Regions from separate parts of the Homo sapiens genome. Here all the other regions are linked to region 1. Evidence: promoter capture Hi-C in 16 types of primary human blood cells and fetal thymus (Javierre and others, 2016). All regions are on one chromosome and are shown on one strand. The core of a region is centred on a gene start or on the middle of the fragment in contact, and the rest is flanking DNA. Distances in the headings are between cores, read along the strand shown.

What was found. Contacts are between HindIII fragments. The CHiCAGO score rates a contact against its expected background, and 5 or more counts as called.
Region 2: a contact is called between a fragment that was not itself captured here and the fragment with the promoter of PTMS in region 1, in 4 of 17 cell types (activated CD4 T cells, non-activated CD4 T cells, naive CD4 T cells and 1 more). The highest score is 7.3, in activated CD4 T cells.
Region 3: a contact is called between a fragment that was not itself captured here and the fragment with the promoter of PTMS in region 1, in 2 of 17 cell types (activated CD4 T cells and non-activated CD4 T cells). The highest score is 6.2, in activated CD4 T cells.
Region 4: a fragment that was not itself captured here is called in contact with the fragment with the promoter of PTMS in region 1 in 9 of 17 cell types (total CD4 T cells, naive CD4 T cells, activated CD4 T cells and 6 more); the score reaches 10.3 in total CD4 T cells.
Region 5: a contact is called between a fragment that was not itself captured here and the fragment with the promoter of PTMS in region 1, in 1 of 17 cell types (non-activated CD4 T cells). The highest score is 5.2, in non-activated CD4 T cells.

What each region holds. Positions count from the first base shown.
Region 1 is chr12:6,765,113-6,767,812 of GRCh38, forward strand. It overlaps PTMS (parathymosin), which reads left to right and starts at 1,251. Exons shown (of 5, transcript NM_002824.6): 1 at 1,251-1,638. The coding sequence starts at 1,594. RefSeq lists silencers at 1,116-1,445, 1,556-2,055. The HindIII fragment of the contact is 8,838 bases long and covers 803-2,700 here.
Region 2 is chr12:6,930,415-6,933,114 of GRCh38, forward strand. The region is part of intron 1 of ATN1 (atrophin 1); the gene reads left to right. Among named protein-coding and RNA genes, the nearest start is that of ATN1, 3.8 kb to the left of the region's middle. The HindIII fragment of the contact is 1,254 bases long and covers 639-1,892 here.
Region 3 is chr12:6,909,185-6,911,884 of GRCh38, forward strand. LRRC23 (leucine rich repeat containing 23) reads left to right here. Exons shown (of 8, transcript NM_001135217.2): 6 at 706-842. Among named protein-coding and RNA genes, the nearest start is that of ENO2, 4.0 kb to the right of the region's middle. The HindIII fragment of the contact is 2,135 bases long and covers 375-2,509 here.
Region 4 is chr12:6,586,175-6,588,874 of GRCh38, forward strand. CHD4 (chromodomain helicase DNA binding protein 4) reads right to left here. Exons shown (of 40, transcript NM_001273.5): 23 at 2,124-2,248; 24 at 1,538-1,775; 25 at 1,210-1,385. Among named protein-coding and RNA genes, the nearest start is that of CHD4-AS1, 19 kb to the left of the region's middle. The HindIII fragment of the contact is 7,516 bases long and covers 1-2,700 here.
Region 5 is chr12:7,008,853-7,011,552 of GRCh38, forward strand. The region is part of intron 1 of LPCAT3 (lysophosphatidylcholine acyltransferase 3); the gene reads right to left. Among named protein-coding and RNA genes, the nearest start is that of LPCAT3, 8.3 kb to the right of the region's middle. The HindIII fragment of the contact is 3,708 bases long and covers 1-2,700 here.

The sequences.
Region 1 (2,700 bases), core at 1-2,500:
AGCCTTCCACTCTGTCCACCTTCCTGACCTTTAATACACAACCCAGCCCCTGTTCCCTTCTGAAATCCCAAGCTTTTCAAAATGACTCAAAGATACCGAGATTGAGGGCGAGGAGCTGAGGATGTGTGGAATAGGGTGGGGCTGGAACTCCAGACCTGGACCTGTATTATATTTGCAAAGGAGGCAAATATAACCCAGAAAGGCTAGGGAAGATGGCAGCAGAGGAATGAGAAAAGCTGAAGGATGGAAAATGTAAAAAATGAGGACAGAAAGAGGAGTTGAGGAAAGCCAGCCAAGAATAGAGGGCCAGGTGCCTGACTCAGATAAGACAAGAGCAGGGTTGTCTGGGAAAGATAGGGAAAGAGACCAGAGGTGGAAGGGCAGAAGAGAGTCAGTGAGGAGTGGAGAAGAGGTGAGAGAAGAATGGGAGCGATTCGAGTTATAATTGGTTGTGAAGGAGGGGTCTAGGTACAGATGACTGAGGACGGATGAAGAGAAATAGAAGGACCAGGCGAATAAAAGTGAGGTGAGACGGGCGAATAAGAGAGGTAGAAGATGGAAGAGAGCTGGAAGACAGCAAAGGAGACCAGGGGGCCTGACTCCCCCCGGCTCACAGCACGGGGCCAGGAAGGGAGGCACCCGGCAAGGGTCACAAGTGTCAATCTGGCGGGACAGAAGGCTGGGCCGCCCTTTCTGCCCTCCCATCCCTCCTCAAGGCCATCCAGAGAATGTGGATGGAGGATGAGAGGGGGAAATCCGGCGTGGTGTGGAAGGAGCGCCCGAACCCTCTTCCTCTTCTTTAAGCTTTTGGTTTCTCAAATACCTGCCCTATCTTCCCATCTGCTCCCCTCACCCCACCCCTTGGCAAAATCCCAGGGCTTTTTTTGGGGTCAGTAGGATTCTGGCCACCTCTCCAGTCCGCCCCCAAAAGCCAGACTCCACATTCGCAGGCAGTAGGTTGGGATTTGGAAAGGTGCCTCCCCGCAGGAACCCCACCCCTTCCCACCTCCTCGCCCCACTCTTTCTCCGCGGCCGTCAGTCTCTCCATTTCCCCCTCCTGGTCTCGTCCTCCCTCCCGACTCCCTAGCTCTCCCTCCCCTCGCTTTCATCCTCCTATCCCCACCTCTCCAACCTCCTCTTTCATCCCCCTCCCCTCTCCTCTCCTCCCCGCTCCCGCCTGCCCCACCCCTGGGAAGCCCCTCCCGTCGGGCAGCGCCGCCTTATAAGCGGGTTCCCTTCCCGGGGGCGGCAGCGGCTGGTCGGCGGCAGCTCTGCTGGTGCGGGGGCGGCGAGCCCGGGATCGAGCTACCGCGGCCGAGCGCGCCGGCCACCGCCTGCACCGCCCTTCCGCCCGCCCTCCGGACGGCCGCAGCCCTGCGGGTCTCCGCTCCAGACCCACCCCCGCCCCACCCCGCGCGCCTCTGCCGCCTCTTCCAGAGACCCAGCTTGCCGAGCGGCCGCCGCTGCCGCTGTCGCCGCCGCCGCCGCCACCGCGCCAGGTTCCGGCCGCGGCCACCCTCCGCCGTCCAGGGCCCCTCCGTCTCGGCCCCGGGACCCCGGCTCCCCGCCAGCCCCGGCCCCGGCCCCGGCACCATGTCGGAGAAAAGCGTGGAGGCAGCGGCCGAGTTGAGCGCCAAGGTACGGGCGGGGGCGGCGGCGGCCCGGACCTCGCGCAGCCCTGGGGCCCGGCGCGGTCCTTCGCCCCAGGCCGCCCCCGACGGCCCCGCGCGGCCCTTGCGCCCGGGTCCTGGCGGACCCCACTGCGCCCTCCCACCGCTCCCCGGCCCGGAGCTCCTTTCCCGGCTCCGCGCGGCTAGCGCCAGCGCCCTCTAGCTGCCCTGCGCGCACCACGGCGCCCGGCCTCGCCGCTCCGGTCGCGCCGTCCCCCGCAGCCGTCCCCACCCCTCTTCGGCCCCACCTCGCTGACCGGATCCCGTCCGGCTTCCCGTCCGAACGCCCCGAGTCTCACTTTGCCGCGCCCCCTCCCTGCGCCCCGCTGCCGCGTCTTTGCTTGCAACCTGACCTCACCTTTCCTCGCTAAGCGGTTTGAGATCCTCAAGTGTAAACAGGACTCTCCCTGGAGGCTGCTCCTCCGGGCCCCTCCCCGCGGCCCGACCGTCGCTCGCTTCTCTCCCCGGACGGCGGCCGCCTCTGTTTTCTCGTTCCCTCCCCTCAGCTGGCTTTCAGCTTTCTTTTCTCTTCATCGTCCCCTTCCCGCATACACACTGAAAGAATCTCGAATTCCTAAAAATTAGAAGCGGGGCAGGACTAGCCTTCGAAAAAGCCGAGGCTGGGCATTGCATGGCATTGCGTCGAGCTGTCCTCGCCCTCATCAGCTCCCTTCCCCGGCCCCATCCGTTCGCCCTTGCCTCTCTTCCAGCCTTCCTCTAATTTCCCCAGGGAACCTGCGGAGTGTCGCTTTGGGAAATTAACGCGGCCGGGGTTTGGGGGCTGGGAGCCCTATCTTGTGTGTGTATGTGTATGGCGGGGGGGGGGGGCGCGGTGGTTGCTGAGGGGCCGTCACACAGGTCTCCCGGAGGCCCGCGGAGTGAAACGGGGGGAGCCAATGGGATTAACGGCGGTGGGAGAGGGGCTGTGTGCGATCTGCCAAGGTGCGCCCGTGTGGCCCTCCGGCGGGCTGTGCGGTGGCATGTGACTTCACTGAGTAGGTGTCTTTGTATGTCTGAAATCCAGCGAGTG
Region 2 (2,700 bases), core at 16-2,515, 170 kb after region 1:
ATTTCTTTTCCTGTTCTTACTTAGGGGCTCTTTTTCTAGTTCTCACTTTCCTCCCAACCCAGTCTGGTCTTAATCATTTTCTTTTTAAAGTAAGGTAATGGCAGTGCGCAGTGGCTCACGCCTGTAATCCCAGCACTTTGGGAGGCTGAGGCGGGCGGATCACGAGGTCAGGCGATTGAGACCATCCTGGCTAACACGGTGAAACCCCGTCTCTAGTAAAAATACAAAAAAATTAGCCGGGCGTGGTGGCGGGCGCCTGTAGTCCCAGCTACTCAGGAGGCTGAGGCAGGAGAATGGCGTGAACCCGGGAGGTGGAGCTTGCAGTGAGCCGAGCCGAGATCGCGGCACGGCACTCCAGCCTGGGTGACAGAGTGAGACTCCGTCTCAATAAATAAATAAATAAATAAATAAATAAAATAAAGCAAGGTAATGAAGGTGAATGTGCTTAGTATGTGGCCAGATACAGAGTAGGTGCTCTGTAATATTAGTTACAGTGATTGCCTGCTAGGAGTGTAGGCTGGTGCTAAAACATGACCCAGGTCTAGAAAGACACACAATCCACCCCTAACTCCTTTCCTCGTCTGCCACTCCTTATCCCCAGGATTACTTGTTCTTTTATGACTGCTTTTCTCCTTCAAAGCTTCTCATTGCTAGTTTTTATCAGATTTCAGGTGATTAAAAAAGAAGGGCATACTATGATTGCTGTGTTCCTCAGGTACATTCCTGTGTTTCTCTGACCTTTTGGATCCCCTAACCTAACTGACTTGGTGAACAGGTTCTGTGATGGGGAAGGGAGATGGACACCCTTCTCTAGGAGGGCTGGCAAAAATACACCAATCACAAATAGTCATCTTTGTTGTGCTTTTTGTTTAAGATTGTTTTCCTCTTTTGCTATGGTGGGTGTTGTTCTTCGGATTTTTTTTTTTTTTTGGTTGATAGTATTTTAAAACCAGTCTACATAACAACTAAAAAATGTGGGAAAATAGCTGTAGTTGAAAAAAAAAAAAAAAAAAAAAAGGCCGGGCATGGTGGCTCACGCCTGTAATCCCAACACTTTAGGAGGCTGAGGCAGGTGGATCATCTGAGGTCAGGAGTTCGAGACCAGCCTGGTCAACATGGTGAAACTCCGTCTCTACTAAAAATACAAAAATTAGCCAGGTGTGGTGGTGTGCGCTTGTAATCCCAGCTACTTGGGAGGCTGAGGCAGGAGAATCGCTTGAACCTGGGAGGCGGAGGTGGCAGTGAGCTGAGATCATGCCATAGCACCTCCAGCCTGGGGAACAAGAGCAAAGATCCATCTCAAAAAAAAAAAAAAGGAAAAAAAAAGAAAACTAGTTGGCCGGGCACAGTGGCTCACGCCTGTAATCCCAGCACTTGGGAAGGCCGAGGCAGGCAGATCACCTGAGGTCAGTAGTTCGAGACCACCCTGACTAACATGGTGAAACCCTGTCTCTACTAAAAATACAAAAAATTAGCCGGGTGTGGTGGTGCATGCCTGTAATCCCAGCTATTCAGGAGGCTGAGGCAGGAGAATCGCTTGAACCTGGGAGGCAGAGGTTGCAGTGAGTGAGATCACGCCACTGCACTCCAGCCTGGGCAACAAGAGTGAAACTCTGTCTCAAAAAAAAAAAAAAAAAAAAAAAAAAAGACAAGTCTACTGGGCAGAGCATCAGTTGAAAGTTCAGAAGATAGGCTCTGTCCCAGCAATTTTGTGATTCTAAGTAAATTGTGAAGTTTCCTGGAAAGGTTAGACTCACCCCTTACTGCCTGCATCAGTATGGTTCCGTGGAGGTGAGTGAGAATTACTGTGTTTCTTGGGAAAAAATACACTACAGAATATGGACATGCCGTTTACCTAGCAGGCCTCCAACTCAGAATAGAATACATGGGTAAGCTTAGTCTGTTCCCACTGGAGCTAGCAGCACTTAATTCAGGAAGAAAGACCTACTGATGTTAGTGGGTTTAAAGGTCAATCACAAGAAGAGCGCACACACATCAGTGGAAAGGAAGAAAACAGTAAGAAAATACCATTTTTGCTCTCAAAAGATCTTACAATCAGTAATTTGGAGGGACTTGACACTTAGCAAGAAATACAAACAAGTGCAAATGAATACAGCTGGCTATAGGGATTTGGATAAAGATAGATACCTGCTGATAGACAGATACGGATGGATTGGCTGTGAGAAACTGTGTAACCCAGTCTACACCAAGTAGGAGGATAGGCTTAAAAACTGGTACATCTGTGTTGTTTGCTCACGGATATTTTGAGTCTTTAATCATTCATGTGAAAACCCTGACTTTTCCTCTAGCCTTAGGGAGCTCAAGTACTAGAGAATGGGTCCTTTATGGGGCTCTCAAAAATGAAGTTCTACAATTTGGGGCTACCTAGGTTTAGTCTTGGGATTGGTAGGGCTGTGTTCCTTTGTATTATAGAATGGGACATTCTTCTTCTACCTACTCTGATGTGAGAAAAGATTCTTTTCATATCTCTGTGACTGATCTAGGCCTTCTGAGAATTCTCCCCAGCAACTTCTGAGGAGAATACAGCAAAGTATAGAAGAAAGAGCATGGGCTTTGAAGTCACCGACATGGGTTTGATTCTGGCTCTGTCACTGGTTCCTCACTGTGTGAGGTTGGGCTAGTCACAATCACAATCTTTGAGCCTCAGTTCCCTCACCTATATAATGAGGGTAATAATGC
Region 3 (2,700 bases), core at 192-2,691, 140 kb after region 1:
TATATTATATATAATATATAATTATATATAATATATATAATTAGATATAATATATAATTATATATTATATATAATTATATATAATATATTATATATAATTATATATAATACATAAATATATATAATAGTATATATTATATATAATATATATAATATATAAATATATATAATAGTATATTATATATAATATATTTTATATAATATATAAATATTATATATAATAGTATATTATATATAATATATAAATATTATATATAATAGTATATAATATATAATATATAATATATATTTTATATATTATATAATATATTATATATTATATATATAATAACTCCACAGGAAGCCACTGAAATATTTAGTCTTTTAGACTCTTAAGCTTCGTTATTCTGGGATGGTGCTGATGCCAATCCTCAGTGGTGGCCTGGGGGCTCCTGGGCCGGGTAGGGGTGGGTTGAAGCATCTCCTCCATCCCAAGTGGCTTTGATGGGGCGAATGGTAGAGGGTTACTGCTGACCTTTCTCTGGGATGGCAGCTTCTCCTGAACTTCTTTACTTTCTATACTGATCTCTACTCACCCCCACTCCTTTCTTCCACTCCTCCCTCTCTACCTCTTGGATTTCCTCTTTTGCTTTATCTCATTCTGACTTCTCTTTCTTCCCTATCCCTGCTCCCTCTCAATCAATCCACTGTGCCCTGGGGGTCTAGGCCCAAAACATGCTGAAGAAGGTGGAAGGCTTGGAGGATCTGAGCAATCTCACCACCTTGCATCTTCGAGACAACCAGATTGACACCCTGAGTGGCTTCTCCAGAGAAATGAAATCATTGCAGTACCTCAACCTGAGGTATGCACCCTCTCCAAGCCCCACCTTGCCCCTACCCCTGACCAGGTGCAGCTTTTGAGTCTGTGTTCTTCCCTGGCCCAATCCCCCAGTCCTAGCCCACAGCTGGATTCTCAAGGAAAGCCCGGCTTTCCTTCCTTTCTTCTGCACTGAGTTGCAACACTAAATCCCTTATAGCTTGTGACCCCTGAATTTTTATTCATTCAATCCACAATTATTGAGAATGTGCTATGTGCCAGGCCTTGTGCTGTGTTTTGGGGACATTTAAAGCAATCAGAGGCTGGGCATGGTGGTTCATGCCTGTACTCCCAGCACTTTAGGAGGAAGGATCACTTGAGGCCAGGAGTTCAGGACCAGCCTGGGCAACCTAGTGAGACCATGTTTCTACAGAAGTGAAAATAATGGCCCGGCATGGTGGCTCACACCTGTAGTTCTAGCACTTTGGGAAGCCGAAGTGGGCAGATCGTTGGAGCCTAGGAGTTCAAGACCAGTCTGGGCAACATGGCAAAATCCCATCTCTACCAAAAATACAAAAATTAGCCAGGCATGGTGACAGGCACCTGTAATCCCAGCTACTCAGGAGACTTAGGCGGGAGGATCGCTGGAGCCTCGAGGTGGAGTTTGCAGTGAGCTGAGATAAAGCCGCTGCACTCCAGCCTGGGTGACAGAGCCAGACCCTGCCTCAAAAACAAAACAAAAATAAAATATTAAATAAAAATTAAAATATTAAATTAAAAATAAAAATTAACTGAGCCTGGTGGTGCACACCTGTGGTTTCAGCTACTCAGGAGGCTGAGGTTGGAGGATCACTTGAGCCCAGGAGTTCAAGGTTGCAGTGAGCCATGATTGTGCCACTGCACTCCAGCCTGGGTGACAGAGTGAGCTGTCTCTAAAAGAAAGAAAGGAATCAGAGGTGATTCCTGTTCCTAAGGGGCTCACAGTCTGGCTCCAACTCTTTTTTCCTCACCCTATCCTATATAAGTTTCCACTGCCCTTCTCCATTTCCTCGGTCCCAATTCACCTTCCCATTTCCTGCCTCTCTTCTCCTGAGCCCCACCTGTAAGGGATGACCTTTTTACTGATTAAAAAAACACAAGATGTGCTCAGATTTGAGGAGAGAAGGACATTTGTAAGAAAATCTTTTGGTAGAAAGGCACTGAAGATCAGCAACTCTTGTCGGATGGAGGACTTTATGTGTGTTTATTTCAGCAAACATGTAAGGAAACTGCCTCTTTCCTTAGTCAACAAGACCAGATTCTTGAGCTGGTAATGGAAAGAGCATCTCCAAGTAGGGAGAGGTGGTTGCATCTGGAAGCCCCAACTCTCATCCTGACCCCCTGGGCATTCTCTTATTCATGAACTCTGCCACACGGATCTGGTGGGGTGTGTATCTGTGCCATCTTCCTGTTAATGATCTAGACAGGCATGATGGACCCTTCCTGAGTGGCTATTAAATGGGGATGTTTTGAGAGTAAGTCGGGTGTGTGTGTGGAGGGGGGTGAGGGTGTCTCAATGATTGGCAGGTGCCTCTGGGGCCAGAGATGCTAAGCATCCAACAATGTATGGCAGAGTCCAGTACAAAGTTCCTGTAGCCCTCCTGGTGAGAAACACTGCATGAGGCTCAGCACGACCATGAGATCAGGCTGAAACACTTAAATAGATTTCATAAAAGCTTAAAGCCAGAACATGAAAATAAATAAAATTCCAGGCATGGTGGCTCACGCCTGTAATCCCAGCACTTTGGGGGGGCCAAGGCAAGAGGACTGCTTGAGGCCAGGCGTTCAAGACAAACCTGGGCAACATAGTGAGACCCAGTCTCTACAAAAAATTTAAACATTAGCCAGGTGTGGTGGCACATGCC
Region 4 (2,700 bases), core at 156-2,655, 180 kb before region 1:
GATCACAAGGTCAGGAGATCGAGACCATCCTGGCTAACACAGTGAAACCCCATCTCTACTAAAAATACAAAAAAAATTAGCTGGGTGTGGAGGCAGGCACCTGTAGTCCCCAGCTACTCGGGAGGCTGAGGCAGAAGAATGGCATGAACCCGGGAGGCAGAGCTTGCAGTGAGCCAAGATCGCACCACTGCACTCCAGCCTGGGGGAGAGAGTGAGATTCCATCTCAAAATAAATAAATAAATACATACATACATACATACACAAGGAGGCCTGGTGTGGTGGCTAACACCTGTAATTCCAGCACTTTGGGAGGTCAAGGCAGGAGAACTGCTTAAGGCCAGGAGTTCAAGACCATCCTGGGCAACATAGCAAGACATCTCTAAAAACATTTAAAAAATTAACCAGGTGTGGTAGCACACATCTACTAGGGTCACTCTTCAGCCCAAGAGTTTAAGGTTGCACTCAGCTATGATTGTGCCACTGCACTCTAGCCTGGGTGACAGAGCAAGACCCTGTCTCTTTTTTTGTTGTTTTTTTTTTTCAAACACAGTCTGGCTCTGTCATCAGGCTGGAATGCAGTGGCGCAATCTCAGCTCATTGCAACCTCCGCCTCCTGGGTTCAAGCAATTCTCCTGCCTCAGCCTCCCGAACACCTGGGACTACAGGTGTGCTTCATCGTGCCTGGCTAATTTTTTTATTTTTAGTAGAAACGGGGTTTCACCGTGTTGGCCGGGCTGGTCTCAAACTCCTGGCCTCAAGTGATCTGCCTGCCTCGGCCTCCCAAAGTGCTGGGATTACAGATGTGAGCCACTGCACCTGGTAGAGACCCTGTCTCTTAAATAAAAACCAGAAAACACAAAGAGATAGATTACCTAGGATCTTCTGCCTTTTCTCTAGAGAGATGAGGTAGCATTCAAAATTTCATTTGTAAGGTTTAATAAAACACATAGGAGAAAATGACATTCTGGTAAAGAGCCAAAATAACTGTTGTGAGCATGATATTTGGTTGTAAGTTTTCTGACAACCAAGGCAAAGATGAAAATCTGATTAGTCATGTTATCAGCTTTGTTTTCAAAGGAAGAGGATCAATTCATCAACATAAGAATTTGCCTACAGATATTTTCCACTTGTCTCAAATACCACCTTGGTCTCAATGCCAATTTTCAGACCAATTACCAAGCACAGGATTGCCTTGGATTCATACTCACCCCCATTTCTTCTTCCCGTACCACATACTGGGCCACTTTGAATGAGCTCAAATATTCATTCATGCCCTGCAATTCTGTGTCTTCAGTCTCATCCTGGTTACGGTCTAGCAGCCGTTCAATGGCCTTATCATCGTAGTGGATAACACTGCTATCTTCTCCCTCTTTGTTGTCTCCTCCTATAAAAAATCAAGGGCCCACATCCCCAAAGTCAGTTTCAGCAGCTGCAGTGGAAAAAGCAAGTCCCACAAGACCCTTGGTATCAAAGATTCTCCCTAACCTTTAGAGAGGCCAAGCCCCACACCAAAACGTAAGTTCCTGACTACCTCACCTCCATCAGTGGCTTCATCCTTGAATAGTTCCTCAGTGCCAAATTTGAGGATATCATCAAGCTCCTGTTTGGACATAGATCCAGTCTTGGAGCCCAGCCCAGGCCGCACCACTAGATGCGTCAGCATCATTTTCTTCTTTGCCACCTGCGTGATGCGCTCCTCCACTGACGCACGGGTCACAAACCGGTAGATCATTACCTTTTTATTTTGCCCAATCCGGTGAGCTCTGCTAAAGGCCTGGAGTTGAACAGGAAATAAAGCCAGAAATTGTATTTTCCTGGTGCCACTCTTATCCTGACTTCCACATAATATTCTAAATTCAGTACAAGGCAAGGTCCACAGCCTACATTCATAGGAAACTTCCTTTTGCACCCCTGCCTCCAGACACCACCCTCTATTATCATGTTACCCAAAATAGGATCACAGCTAACCAAACTCTGGCTTACAATAAGGTAAACAACACAAAAAGAATCTGTTGTTTCTCACTTAAAAACCTAATTCCAGATGGTGGAGCCCTCATAGAGGCCACTATGCCTTTCTAGCATAACATGTTACTTATTAAGGCTGCCTGCTGCCTCTGCTCACCTGAATGTCATTATGGGGGTTCCAGTCAGAGTCATAGATAATAACTGTGTCAGCAGTGGCCAGATTGATTCCAAGGCCCCCAGCTCGAGTGGAAAGCAAGAAGCAGAACTGCTGAGCACCCGGTGCTAATAAAAGAACCAAAAACACCATTAGAAGTGTCTCCTAAATTCCAATTCATAAATGTAGTTTAAAAAATTAAGCCGGGGGCAGTGGCTCATGCCTGTAATCTCAGCACTTTGGGAGGCAGAGACAGGTGGATCATTTGACATCAGGAGTTCGAGACCAGCCTGGCCAACACGGTGAAACCCTGTCTCTACTAAAAATACAAAAATTAGCCAGGCGTGGTGGTATACACCTGTAATCCCAGCTACTCAGGAGACTGAGGCAGGAGAACCGCTTGAACCTGGTAGGCAGAGGTTGCAGTGAGCAGAGATTGCACCACTGCACTTTAGCCTGGGCAACAGAGCAAGAAACTCCATCTCAAAAAAAAAAAAAAATTTAGCTGGGAATGGTGGCACACGCCTGTAGTCCCAGCTACTCAGGAAGCTGAGGCAGGAGAATCACTTGAGCCCAAGAG
Region 5 (2,700 bases), core at 1-2,500, 240 kb after region 1:
ATGTGAACATAATAACAATGTGAACATAATAACAACAACATCTCTTTATTCCTCAGATAACATCCAGAGCAGGAACTCTGGAGTCAGGCAGAACTGAATGTGACTTTAAGCAAGTTACTCAATTTTTGTAGGCCCAACTTTCCTATCTGTCAGGCCTACAAATGGGAAAAACTAAACCATAAGGAATCTAAGAGTTTTGTTTATTCCAAAGAGTACAGGATACAATGACCTTTCTTTTTTTTTCTGTCACCCAGGCTGGAGTGCCATGGTGCAATCTCGGCTCACTACAACCTCTGCCTCCTGGGTTCCAGCGATTATCCTGTCTCAGCTTCCCAAGTAGCTGGGACTACAGGCATGTGCCACCATGCCCAGCTAATTTTTATCTTTTTAATAGAAATGGGTTTCACCATGTTGGCCAGGCTAGTCTCCAACTCCTGACCTCAGGTGATCTGCCTGCCTCGGCCTCCCAAAGTGCTGGGATTACAGGCGTGAGCCACCGCGCCTGGCCAATGACATTCCAAAAAGGTACTATCAGGACATCAAGTACTACAAAATAGGCACCGGAAGAAATATGCTAAATTAGTAATCCTCAAACTCTAGAGTAATAAGTATAACCTGGCTTGCTAGAACAGATTACTGGGCACTATCCTCAGAGTTTCTCAATCAGTAGTTTTGGAGTAGACCAAAGAATCTGCATTTCTAACAGGCTCCCATAAGATACAGATGCTGTTGGTCACAAGACCATACTTTGTGTCTCCTTGGAAAGGGAGAAAATAAATATTTATTGACAGGGAAGGGAAGAACAATTATTTAAGATGATCTTGGGTCAAGCATGGTTAAGTGTTTACATAGTTTATCTTATTTAGTCCTTACAACATCCCAATGAGCAACAGTTCTCAAACTTTTCCAGGCCAAAGGAGAATGAACACATCACAAAAGAGTATGCCTAAGCAGTCTTCTAGAAATAGAAAATTTCTTTGATGACTGTATTACTTTAAAAATTCATATAAATTTTGTATTCTGTTTCAAAATACTGCTGCTAGTTATGAATGAAATATAAATCTAAAAATATTTATCAGATAAATTGCTTAACTCTTCATTGCAATTCTTTAGTAAAATTGGCCTGTGGGAATATAAAGAAATGGGTGGTTGAACTCTGGTAATGAGCTTATGGTGAAACAGCTAGTACATATTTATTTGATCCAGCATTTGAACCTAGGCCAGAAGATCTCTAAAGACAATGCACATGTTACTACCTTACTCTGTCATTGACCTCCACCTACATAAAAGGCCTATCATGTTTTTCTCTACTGCTCTTTTACGATCTTCTATTGTTCTGGTTAAAGAGGACTACTTGCTGTTCCTCAGATTTTTCTCAAAATTTTTTTTTCTTTTTCCTTAGATTCAGGGACAGACAGGGTCTTACTCTTCCTGATCTCCAGATTACTCTTTGTAGCTGGAAAGCTCCTCCGCTTTCATCTCTACTTTACTAGAATCTTACCATCCCCTTTAAGGCCCAGCTAAAATGTCACTTTCTTTCAGAAGACCAAATACCATTATTGATTGATTGATTGACTGACTGAGACAAGGCCTCACTCCTGTTGCCCAGGCTGGTGCAGTGATGTGATCATGGCTCACTGCAGCCTTGACTTCTGGGGCTCTGGTGCATCCTCTCACTTCAGTCCCCTGAGTAGCTGGGACTACAGACACATGCTACCATGCCCAGCTAATGCAAATATCATTTTTAAAAGGCGACTGAACTGGACGCCTCATATGAGCTCCCATGGCTGCCCAGACATGCTTTCATGTCAGTGATTATATAATTTTTTTTGTAAATTAGCTTATGCAAATAATCTTGTGGACCCTAACTTATACATGCTTCTGCAAAGAAACATGTTTAACGATAAAGTTATACTGGAATTCAAAACATGATGTTTTATGGAATGTAAGACATTGGGGTATAGATAAAAAGTGGTTGGAAAAAATATATATATTTATTTTTAGAGATGAGGTCTCCTTCTGTCATCTAGGTTGGAATGCAGTGGCATCATCATAGTTCACTGCAGTCTCAAATTCCTGGGCTCAAATGATCCTCCCACCTTGGTCTCCTGAATAGCTGGGACTACAGGTGCATGCCATCATGCCTGGCTAATTAAAAACAAAATTTATTTATTTATTTTTGAGACAGAATCTTGCTCTTTTGCCCATGCTGGAGTGTAGAGGTATGATCTTGGCTCAATGCAGCCTCAACGTCCTGAGTTGAGCGGAGGACCCCGGGCTCCAGTGATCCTTCCACCTCAGCCTCCCAAGCAGCAGGGACTACAGACATATGCCACCCAGCCCAGTTAATTTTGTTCACTTTTTGTAGAGATGAGGTATCACTATGTTGCCCAGGCTGGTCTTGAACTCCCGGACTCAAGTGATCCTCTTGCTTTGGCCTCCCAAAGTGCTGGGGTTACAGGCGTAAGCCACCGTGCCTGACCTGGAAAATTGTATTTAAAAGAAATTCTTGGCCAGGGGCAATGGCTTATGCCTGTAATCTCAGCACTTTGGGAGGCTGAGGCTGGTGGATTGCTTGAGCTCAGGAGTTTGAGACCACCCTGGGCAACACGGTAAAACCCTGTTTCTACAAAAAATACAGAAAAAATTAGCCAGGCATGGTGGCTCACGCCTGTAGTTCCAGCTACTCAGGAGGCTGAG